Linked DNA regions of Homo sapiens: region 2 is linked to region 1. The links are contacts of gene promoters, found by promoter capture Hi-C in blood cells and fetal thymus (Javierre and others, 2016). All regions are on one chromosome and are shown on one strand. The core of a region is centred on a gene start or on the middle of the fragment in contact, and the rest is flanking DNA. Distances in the headings are between cores, read along the strand shown. Region 1 holds the start of RUSF1 (RUS family member 1). Region 2 has its middle 33 kb from the start of ZNF267.

Region 1 (5,275 bases), core at 2,680-5,179:
CAATTATTACCAGTGCTTCCTTTAATGACCCTCTCAAAAGTCCTGGTTTGCACAATAAATTATACAGTGACACTAGTCATGAGGGCCACCTGCCTCACTTGGAGCCAAGGGCCTCACATTTGAACACTTGACATTATCTCTGAATAAGAACCAACACTTAAACAGTATGTACTATGTGCTAAATACTTTAAGAGTTTTGCACATACGACATGACTTTTTTGTTTTTTGTTTTTTTTTTAGACAGAGTCTTGCTCTGTCGCCCAGGCTGGAGTGCAGTGGCGCAATCTCGGCTCACTGCAACCCCCACCTCCCAGGTTCAAGCAATTCTCCTGCCTCAGCCTCCCAAGTAGCTGGGACTATAGGCACATATCACCACACCTGGCTCATTTTTGTATTTTTAGTAGACATGGGGTTTCACCATGTTGGCCAGGATGGTCTTGATCTCTTGACCTCGTGATCCGTCCGCCTCGGCCTCCCAAAGTGCTGGGATTACAGGCGTGAGCCACCGCGCCCGGCCAAGACATGACTCTTAATTCTCGTTCCAACTCTGTGTGGTAGGTACTAGTATTATTTCCATTTTACCATTACCATTTCGTCTTTCAGAAGAAGAAACTGAAAGACAGAGAGATATGTAACTTGCCCAAGATCTCACAGCTTCCTGGACAGCTTCCTGGACAGAACCTACATTCACAGTAAGGCCCTCTGATGCCCCAGAGTCCTATCCACTCACAGAAGCTAACCTTTCAAATATAACACAATGCTTGATCTTTCACTGTGCCAGGAAACTCAAAATTATTTTGAAAGGATAATTTATTGACAGTGTTATAAGCTAAATGGAAAATAAGAATTAAACATTAAATTTCTGCCAGGCACAGTTCATGCCTATAAGCCCAGCACTTTGGGAAGCTGAGGTGGGCAGATCACTTGAGCCCAGGAGTTTGAGACCAGCCTAGGCAGCATGGCAAAACCCTGTCTCTACAAAAATAAAATACAAAAATTAGCTAGCCATGGTGGCACACGCCTGTGGTCTCAGCTACTCGGGAGGCTGAGGCAGATCACTTGAACCCTGGAAGTTGAGGCTGTAGTGAGACTGTAGTGTGATCACACCACTGCACTCTCTGGGTGACAGAGAACCTGTCTTTTAAAAAAAATTAAATTTATTCAACTACTTCTCTAAAGTGCCACTCCAACATATACCAATATATTCTTTAATCTCAAGAGCTTTGGGAGGCCGAGGTGGGAGGATCACTTGAGGCCAGGAGTTGGAGACCAGCCTGGGCAACATAGTGAGATCCCATCTCTACAGAAAATTTTAAAAGTTGGCCAGGCATGGTGGTGCATGCCTGTAGTCCCAGCTACTTGGGAGGCTGAGGCAAGAGGATCACTTGAGCCCAGGAGTTTGAGGCTGCAGTGAGCTATGATTGCACCACTGCACTCCAGCCTGGGTGACAGAGCAAGACCCTGTCTCATCGATCGATTGATTGATTGACTGATAGAATAAAAAATAAATCTTAACCCTAAGGATGAAGAAGAGCTTGGCCTACAATGTCCTGCAGTTTGGCCCCTAACTCCCTAGCAGCCCTTTCCCCATGCCCCTCGTGCTCTAGACTTCTGCTGCACCGGCCTTTGTTGGATGTTAGGTACCATGCTCCCTCCCCACTCAGGACATGCTGCTCCTTCTTTCCAGAAAATTATTTTCCCATCATAATCAAGTTAACTCTTACTCTAGATCTCAGCTAAATACACACTTCCTCAAAAAAAAAGTTTCCCAGCTGGCCTCAACGGCTCATGCCTATAATCCTAGCATTTTGGAAGACCGAGGCGGGAGGCCTGGGCAACACAGAGAGACCCCAACTTAAATTTTTGTTAAAAAATTTCCCTTGGCCGGGCACAGTGGCTCATGCCTGTAATCCCAGCACTTTGGGAGGCGAGGCAAGCAGATGAGTTGAGGCCAGGAGTTCAAGACCAGCCTGGCCAACATGGCAAAACCCCGTCTCTACTAAAAATACAAAAATTAGCTGGGTGTGGTGGTGAATGCTTGTAACCCCAGCTACTCCGGAGGGTGAGGCAGGTGAATCACTTGAACCCAGGAGGTGGAGGTTGCAGTAAGCCAAGACTGTGCCACTGCACTCCAGCCTGGGTGACAGAGGGAGACTCCATCTCAAAAAAAAAAGTTTCCCTTGATTCCACTGATTAGCTCAATTCTCCTTCTAAAAGTCCTCATATTAAATAACATGTACCCCTCTACAGCAATTGAAATAGTTCCAACTTTGCATTTATTTGTATGATTTGATCAATATCCTTCCCTAATATAAGTTCCAAAAGACCAAGACCCTTGTTTGTTTTTGCTCACTATCCCAATGAGCACATAGGTAGCAACAGGTATTTGTAGAAGAAACTGGCAAACCATTGGTAAAAAAGAGATAACAAACACGGAGTTAATGACAACTGCACGGTTCAAGCGATTTTCTTGCCTCCGCCTCCCGGATAGCTGGGATTATGGCCACACCACCCCCACGCCCAGCTAATTTTTGTATTTTTAGTAGAGATGGGGTTTCAACATGTTGGCCAGGCTGGTCTTAAACTCCTGACCTCAAGTGATCCACCTGGCTCGACTTCCCAAAGTGCTGGAATTACAGGCGTGAGCCACCACGCCCAGCCCAAGGATCACTTTTGAGGCCAGGAGTTTGAGAGCAGCCTGGGCAACATAGGGAGGCCCTGCCTCTATTTAAATAAATATGTTTTTAAAGTACTTAGTCTTCAAACCTTGTTTTATTTTTGTCCTCTATTCAAACCAGTACCTGAATTTAGACAACATTACAGAAATGTTGTGATTAGGCCATTTGTATTTTGAAACCCGAAATTTAAAGAAAAAAAAAAAGAAAAGAAAAGAAGTGTTCAAGTTTATCTCAGTCAGAGAGAGACTGTGTTTGTGTGAGATAAGGCGAAGTGGGGTAGAAGGGCCTTCCAGGATTAAGTCCACGAGGAAGGTGACGGTTTGGGAGAATCTGAAGTTTCAAATAAGGAGTTGTCGGTTGGGATCAAACTGTGGGGATCCAAGAATGCCAGGCTAAGAAACCAGGATATTTTATTTTCTGATAAAAAGAGGATGCTTTTTTGGCAAATTTCTGCTTCGGAGTGAAGATGCTGCACTAGATGGGAAGGAGAAGAGGAGAAATGGAAAGAAGAAAAGGTGAGTTCCAAGGACAGAAACACTCCCTCTTTGGACTCCCCCCAATTTCATGGACTCTCTCCCGCAAAAAAACACACAAGAACTTCCTGCCTTGTTTCCTTGTTTTGTGACATCATTGCAATCTCTTGATTTTTTTCATCCCTCGGATTCCTTAGCATCCTTCAAAAGTAATGTTCCTGCAGTCTCGCAGAAGGCCGAAGGATGGAGAATTTCTAGTCCAGGCCAGGGACACTCAGAAGAGAGAAAAAAAAAAGAACAAAAAAAGACCCAAGCAGCTTCACAGGGCCTCATCTGGTCCAATTTCTTCTCATGATGCATTCATTCACTCATAAATATCTTTTGAGCACCTACTATGTGTTGGGTAGATCTAGGGATAAAATCAGGGTTAAAAATACAGTCGCTGGTCTCACAGCAAAAAAGGCACCTGAGGCCCAGAGAGGGCCACTGACTTGCCAAAAGTCACAAGCTAAAACTTCTGTGGCCGAACCGCGTCTCGAACACAACTGGCGGAGGCCCACGGCGCCTGCAGCCCAGCTGCAGAATGCTACAAAGCAACGGGGGCCGGTGCCGGGGCGTCCGAAGCAGCGCCGAGGCCGGAGAGAGCGACAGTCAGTTTCCTAACTGCGCGGCGGACGCCGAGGCCGGCGCCTGTTCTTGAAAGATGTCCCTCTGCAGCCGCGGTAGCCCAGCCGGAAGTGCCGCCTGCCACGTCCACCGTGCGGCAGGGGCGGGGCTGGGATCCAAAAGCTCGGCATGGCTGACGACGCGGGTTTGGAGACCCCGCTGTGTTCCGAGCAGTTCGGCTCCGGGGAGGCACGGGGCTGCCGCGCCGCCGCGGACGGGAGCCTGCAGTGGGAGGTCGGGGGCTGGCGCTGGTGGGGGCTCTCCAGGGCCTTCACGGTCAAACCTGAAGGACGAGATGCGGGCGAAGTGGGGGCTTCCGGGGCCCCCTCACCGCCCCTCTCCGGGCTCCAGGCCGTGTTCCTGCCTCAGGGCTTCCCTGATAGCGTCAGCCCGGACTACTTGCCCTACCAGCTGTGGGATTCCGTGCAGGTCAGCTCGGTCGTCTGGGGCAGAGGACAGTGCAGGCCACTCCTCCCTCCCCAATAATGGACGGGTGACTGAGACTCGGAGCCCGGGGGGCGGGGGGTCTGACATGCCTCATACACCAAGAACAAGAACAGATGAAGGCACTTAGACCGCCACGCTCCTACGCCCGCTTCTCACCCTACTTGTTTTCTTCTCCAGGCGTTTGCTTCCAGCCTCTCCGGCTCCCTAGCCACCCAGGCAGTCTTGCTGGGCATAGGGGTGGGGAACGCAAAAGCCACTGTTTCAGCTGCCACGGCCACCTGGCTCGTGAAAGGTGAGCTGCACCCCTGGAGCCTCACGTATTGCTGCTTTCAGCCCTGCTTTCGCTGGGCTCTTATGTGTATATATGTATGGACTCGTGCCCCATTAGGTAGAATTCAGGCAGGTCTCCCCAGTGATTAGAGTGGTGCTTTGTAACCCAGTCTTACTTCCCACATCTGGAAGACCCTCATCCCACTCACCAGCCTAGCAGCCGCACTCCATTCCCCACACAGACTTCTGAGTCTCAATCATCTGGATCCCAAATCCCGTCCCCTCCCCTTTATCCCTATTCTCTTTGTGGAAGATTGCATAAGAATGCAATTGATGGAATAAAACTGCCAGCTGCCCAGGATAGGGGAAATTGGTGAGCTCCAGAAAAAAAAGATATAGTTGGTCCTGAGAAGGAGAGAGGAGAGCCTGGAAAGAATGGAAGGTATTGTGTATGCTCTGGGATACCAGATGATGCTGTAAATAATAGAGTGACTATCTGCTGAATATGTACAGCTTTTAAAAAATTGTTTAAGGAAAAAAAATACAGTTTGGTACCATGCCACCCAGAGAGGGAAATAGAACAGAAAAGGGAAATTGTTACATGTTCTACACGAGGAGGCCCCATGGCTTTTGCCACTGTCCTTTGTCTTTCACTACTGCTCGCAGGGGATATTTATTAGGCTGGTGCAAAAGTAATTGCGGGGTTTCTTTGTCGTTATTGCCATTAAAGGTAATGGAAAA
Region 2 (5,429 bases), core at 2,878-5,377, 330 kb before region 1:
TTAAGCATTTTTCATATACTTGTTGGCCATTTATATATCTTCTTTTTTTTTAAGTTGACATATAATAACCATACATATTTATGGGGCATATAGTGATGTTTCAATATATACAATGAATAGTGATCAGATCAGGATCATTAGCATATCCATCATCTTGAACATTTATCATCTCTTTGTGTTGGAAGCATTCAATATCCTCCTTCTAGCTATTTGAAACTACATTGTAGGGGTTCAGTCAGGATGGTGGGAGAAATTGTAAAATAAATACAAACCTTCTTGGAAGGCCAGAAGGTTTTTGCAAAAGCCTCGGGATAGAGTTATGGCTGAAGGCAGCCTAATCCTCTTTGAGCTATAGCAAGGGTAATTAACATAAGAATGTAGAGGAATCCATCTAAATAGTTTGTTTACTTGGGTGGTCCTGACTAACCTTTGACCATCCGGGAGTGCATGATTGCCCTCTACTCAGTGGGTCAGTAGCCTGATTGCTCTCTACTCAGTGGGTTGTTATCAGTAATTACCTTCTAGTGGTGTTTACTTGAGACCTTTGTCATTTAATGTGTGCTGAATAAATGCGGGCAGGGCCAGCGAGTCGAGGCCGTGGCTGCAACTCTTTACAGACTCTCCTTGGAGTCTGTAAGTGGCCCGGACCCTCAGCTGGACTGACAAGCATAATATCTGTGTCAATGTATGTTATTCATTCTTCGTTGGGTCAGGGTCTGCAGGACAGACCCCCGCACTACACAGCATATTATTGTTATCCCTAGTCGTTGTACAGTGCTATAGAACACTATATGTTCTATCCTTTAACAAATCTCTCCCTATCTATCTCCCTTTCCCCTTGTATATATTCTTTTGAGAAATGCCTTTTCTCGTACTTTGTCCATTCTTTTTTTTTTTTTTTTTTTTTAGATGGAGTCTCGCTTTGCCACCCAGGCTGGAGCACAGTGGCAAAATCTTGACTCACTGCAACCTCCGCCTCCCAGGTTCAAGCATTTCTCCTGCTCAGCCTTCTGAGTAGCTGGGACTATAGGTGCCCACCACAATGCCTGGCTAATTTTTGTATTTTTAGTAGAGCCGGGGTGTCACCATGTTGGCCAGGCTGGTATCGAACTCCTGATCTGCCCACCTCAGACTCCCAAAGTGCTGGGATTACAGGTTTGAGCCACCTGGGATCACCGTGCCCAGCCATACTTTGCCCATTCTTTAACTGGGTCATTTGTTTGCCTGCTGTTGAGTTCCTTACATATTGTAGATATTATCCCCTCATCAGATGTATCGTTGTCAAATATTTTCTCCTATTCCGTAGGTTGTCTCTTCACTCTTTTGATTGTTGCCATTGCTATGTAGAAACAGTTTGGTGTAATCCCATTTGTTGATTTTTGCTTTTCTTGCTTGGGCTTTTAGGCTCATATCCAAAAAACCATTGCTTAGACCAATGTCATGGAGCTTTTCTACTTTGTTTTCTTCTAGTGGTTTTACAGTTTTAGTTCTTACATTTAACTCTTTGATCGACTTTGAATTTATTTTTGCAGATGGTGTGAAAAAAAGTGAAATTTCATTCTTCTGCATGTGAATATCTAGTTTTCCTGACAGCATTTGTTGTAGAAACTGTTCTTTCCCCACTGTGCGTTATTGGCAACTGTGTTGAAAATCAATTGACCATAAATGGGTGGGTTTATTTCTGGGCTATCTATTATGTTTCATTGGTCTATGTGTCTGTTTTTATACCTATAAAATACTGTTTTGATTAGTATGGATTTGTAGTATATTTTGAAATAGGTAGTGTGAGGCCTCCAACTTTATTCTTTTTGCCCAAGATAGCCTTGACTATTTAGGGTCTTTTGTGGCTCCATATAAATTTAGAATTGCTTTTTCTGTTTCTGTGAAAAAACATGTCACTGGAGTTTTGATAAGGATTGCATAGAGCCTGTGGATCATTTTGGGTGGCATAGACATTTTAACAATATTAATTCTTCCAACCCATGATGAATATGGGATATCTTTCCATTTATTTGTGTCTTCTTTAATTTCTTTCATCAGTGTTTTATGGTTTTCAATGTATGAGTCTTTCACTTCCTGGGTAATATTTGTTTCTAAGTATTTTTTTTAATGCTAAGTATCATAAATGGGATAGTTTTCCTGATTTTTTTCCCTGAGATAGTTCATTGTTAATGTGGAACTTTACTGATTGTTGTATGTTTATTTTGTATCCTGCTGCTTTACTGAATTTACCTGTTAGTTCTGACAGATTTCTTGAAATTCTTTCTTAAATGGACACATAATGAATGTACTTACTTACGGGGTAGAATGCAGTGTTATTCATAAAATCAAATGAACTAGCATGCCTCACACATTTATCATTTATTTGTAGTAGAAACATACAGGATGTATGATGCCAACAATAAGGTATTATATATCTCAAAAAGCTAACAGTTTTTTTGGTAGAGACTTTAGGGTTTTCTATGTATAATAGCATGTCATCTGCAAATAGCAACAATTTCACTTCTACCTTTCTAACTTGGATGCCGTTTATCTCTTTCTCTTGCTTAACTGCTCCGGCCAGAACTTCCAGTGCTATGTTGAATGGAAGTGGCAAGAGTAAGCATTCTTTCTTCATTCCTGCTTCTAGAAGGAAAGCTTTTAACTTTTCACCATTAAGTATGATATTAGCTATGGGTTTGTCATATATGACTTTTATTGTGTTGAGGTACATTGCTTCTATACCTAATTTGTTGAGAGCTTTTATCATAAAGGATGTTAAACCTTGTTAAATGCTTTTTATGCATCTATGGAGATGATCATATGGTTTTTGTCCTTCATTCTGTTACTGTAGTGTGTATTACATTTATAGATTTGTGTGTGTTGAATCATCCTTGCATCTCTGTGACAAATTCCATGTGATCATGGTGAATAATCTTTTTAATGTGCTGTTGAATTTTGTTTGCTAGTATTTTGCTGAGGATTTTTGCATTTATGTTCATCAGAGATATTGGCCTGTAATTTTCTTTTCTTGTAGTATCCTTGTCTGGCTTTGGCATCAGGGTAATGCTAGCCTCATAAAACGAATTTGAAAGTATTCCTTCTTCTTTAATTTATTTGAAGAGTTTGAGAAGGTTTAGTTTTTAAAATGTTGGTAGAATTCTTCAGTGAAGCCATCTGGAAACTGGATTAACTGGGATAGGACTGGAGCCTGAATACAAAGGAGCTGGTCTAGTGCTGGGGTGGCCCTAGGTCTGCAGGGTCCTGGGGCCTGGGTCTACCAGGGATAGCCGGAGCCTGTGTCTGCAGGGGTAGTCCTGGAGCCTCAGGTTGCAGTGACTGACCTGGAACTGGAGTTCACTTGGGTGAGCATGGATCCTGGGTTCACTGGAGTCTGAAGTTCGTGGGACTAGACTGAAGCCTAAGGCTAGCCTGGTGCTGGGGCAGGCATAGAGCCTGGGTTTGCAGGGGTGTGTCTGGAGCCTGGGATTGTGGATACTGGCCTGGAGCCTGGTCCATAGGGGATAGTCTGGAAGCTGGGTATGCAGTGCTGGCCTGGAGGCTAGGTCTTCGAGGGGTGGCCTGGGTCATGGGGCCATGGAGGCAGTCCTGGAGCCTGTGTCCATGGATGCCAGGTTGGTGCGTGATGACAGGGTGCCAACTTAGGGCTGGGGCAGGCTGAAGCCTGGGGCTGAAGGGGTGAACCTGGCTCTGGGCTTGGCTGGACCCTGGAGTAGTCCGGGAGGCTGGTCCATGGGTACTGGCCTGATGATGTAGGGCTGTGGAGCCAGCCTGGTGCTGGGGCAGATTGAAGCCTAGTGCTGGGAGTGGCTCAAAGTCTGGGTCAATTGGGGCTGGCCTGATACTGGGGAAGGCCCAGAGACAGTCTGTGAGGCTAGCCTGGAGCCTGAGAATGTGAGGAGAGGCAGAGAGCCTGGGTTTGTAGAGGTTGGCCTGTGCTAGGGCAGGCCTGAGGCCCATGGCCACTGGGGCTGGCCTGGTGGTGGGGCTGGCCTGGAGACCAAGCCTTCCAGGAAGGCCTGGAGCTTGAGGATGCAGAATCCAACCCAGTGCCTTGGTGGACCTGGCAGCTCAGTCTGCTGATGCCAGCCTGGACTTTGGGGTCATGGGGGCCTTCTTGGTGCTGGGTTTCACTGGGGTCGGGTAAAGGGCTGGTGCTGGGGTCCAAGGGAGGGTCCAGTGTTCACTTCCCTGTCCCACCTGGTGGAGGTGTCTCTTGCCAGACTGTGCTGCAGAATGTGGCATGTATGCTTAAGAAGAATATATATTCTTCTGCTGTTGGGTGAAAAGTTTTGTATATGTCTGTTAAGTTTATTTGGTGTATAGTGTTATTCAAGTTTCCCATTTCTTTATTAATTTTTTGTCTTCCACGAGTAGTATTCCATGGTGTGTGTATGTGTGACATTTTCTTTATCCAGTCATCTATTGATGGCCACTTAGGTTGATTCCATATCTTTGCTATTGTGAATAGTGCTGCAATAAACATATAAGGGCAGGTATCTTTTTGATATAACAATTTATTTTCTTTTACGTAGATACGAGGTAGTGGGATTGCTGGATTGAATTGTAGTTCTATTTTTAGTTCTTTGAGAAATCTCCATACTGTTTTCCACAGAGGTTGTACTAATTTACATTCCCACTAACGGTGTGTAAGGGTTCTTTTTTCTCTATATCCTCACCAACAGCTGTTATTTTTTGTCTTTTTTTTTTTGTTTTTTTTGAGATGGAGTCTCACTCTGTCACCCAGGCTGGAGTGCAGTGGCACAATCTCAGCTCACTGCAACCTCCACCTTCCAGGTTCAAGCAATTCTTCTGCCTCAGCCTCCTGAGTAGTTGGGACTACAGGTGCGTGCCACCATGCCTGGCTAATTTTTTTTATTTTTATTAGAGACGGGGTTTCACCGTGTTAGCCAGGATGGTCTCGATCTCCGGACCTCGTGATCTGCCTGCGTCAGCCCCCGAAAGTGCTGAGATTACAGGCGTTGAGTCACCATGCCCGGCTTGTCTTTTTAATGATAGCTATTCTGGCTAGTGTAAGATGATTTCTCATTGTGGTTTTAACTCGCATTTCTCTGATGATCAGTAATGTTAAGCATTTTTTCATATGTCTGCTGGCCATCTGAATATCTTCTTTTGAAAAATGTCTATTCATGTCCTTTTTCCACTTTTTTTTTTTCCCCGAGATAGAGTTTTGCTCTTGTTGCCCAGCCTGGAGTACATTGGCATAATCTTGGCTCACTGCAACCACCTCCCAGATTCAGGCGATTCTCCTGCCTCAGCCTCCTGAGTAGCTGGGATTATAGGCATGCGCCACTACGCCTGGCTAATTTTTGCATTTTTCATAGAGACGGGGTTTCTCCATGTTGTTCAGGCTGGTCTCAAACTCCTGACCTCAGGTGATCCACCCGCCCCAGGCTCCCAAAGTGCTA

The links. The method cuts DNA at HindIII sites, captures the fragments that hold promoters and counts their contacts. A CHiCAGO score of 5 or more calls a contact.
Region 2: a contact is called between a fragment that was not itself captured here and the fragment with the promoter of RUSF1 in region 1, in 1 of 17 cell types (M0 macrophages). The highest score is 5.0, in M0 macrophages.

Annotation. Positions count from the first base shown.
Region 1 is chr16:31,507,045-31,512,319 of GRCh38, reverse strand. It overlaps RUSF1 (RUS family member 1), which reads left to right and starts at 3,929. Exons shown (of 13, transcript NM_022744.4): 1 at 3,929-4,246; 2 at 4,442-4,556. The coding sequence starts at 3,947. RUSF1-DT (RUSF1 divergent transcript) reads right to left here and starts at 3,856. Exons shown (of 2, transcript NR_186401.1): 1 at 3,284-3,856; 2 at 2,754-3,147. RefSeq lists enhancers at 3,379-3,948, 3,513-4,227, 4,228-4,943 and silencers at 4,049-4,098, 4,159-4,218. The HindIII fragment of the contact is 29,640 bases long and covers 1-5,275 here.
Region 2 is chr16:31,838,080-31,843,508 of GRCh38, reverse strand. No RefSeq gene overlaps it. Among named protein-coding and RNA genes, the nearest start is that of ZNF267, 33 kb to the left of the region's middle. RefSeq lists an enhancer at 1-738. The HindIII fragment of the contact is 2,976 bases long and covers 2,640-5,429 here.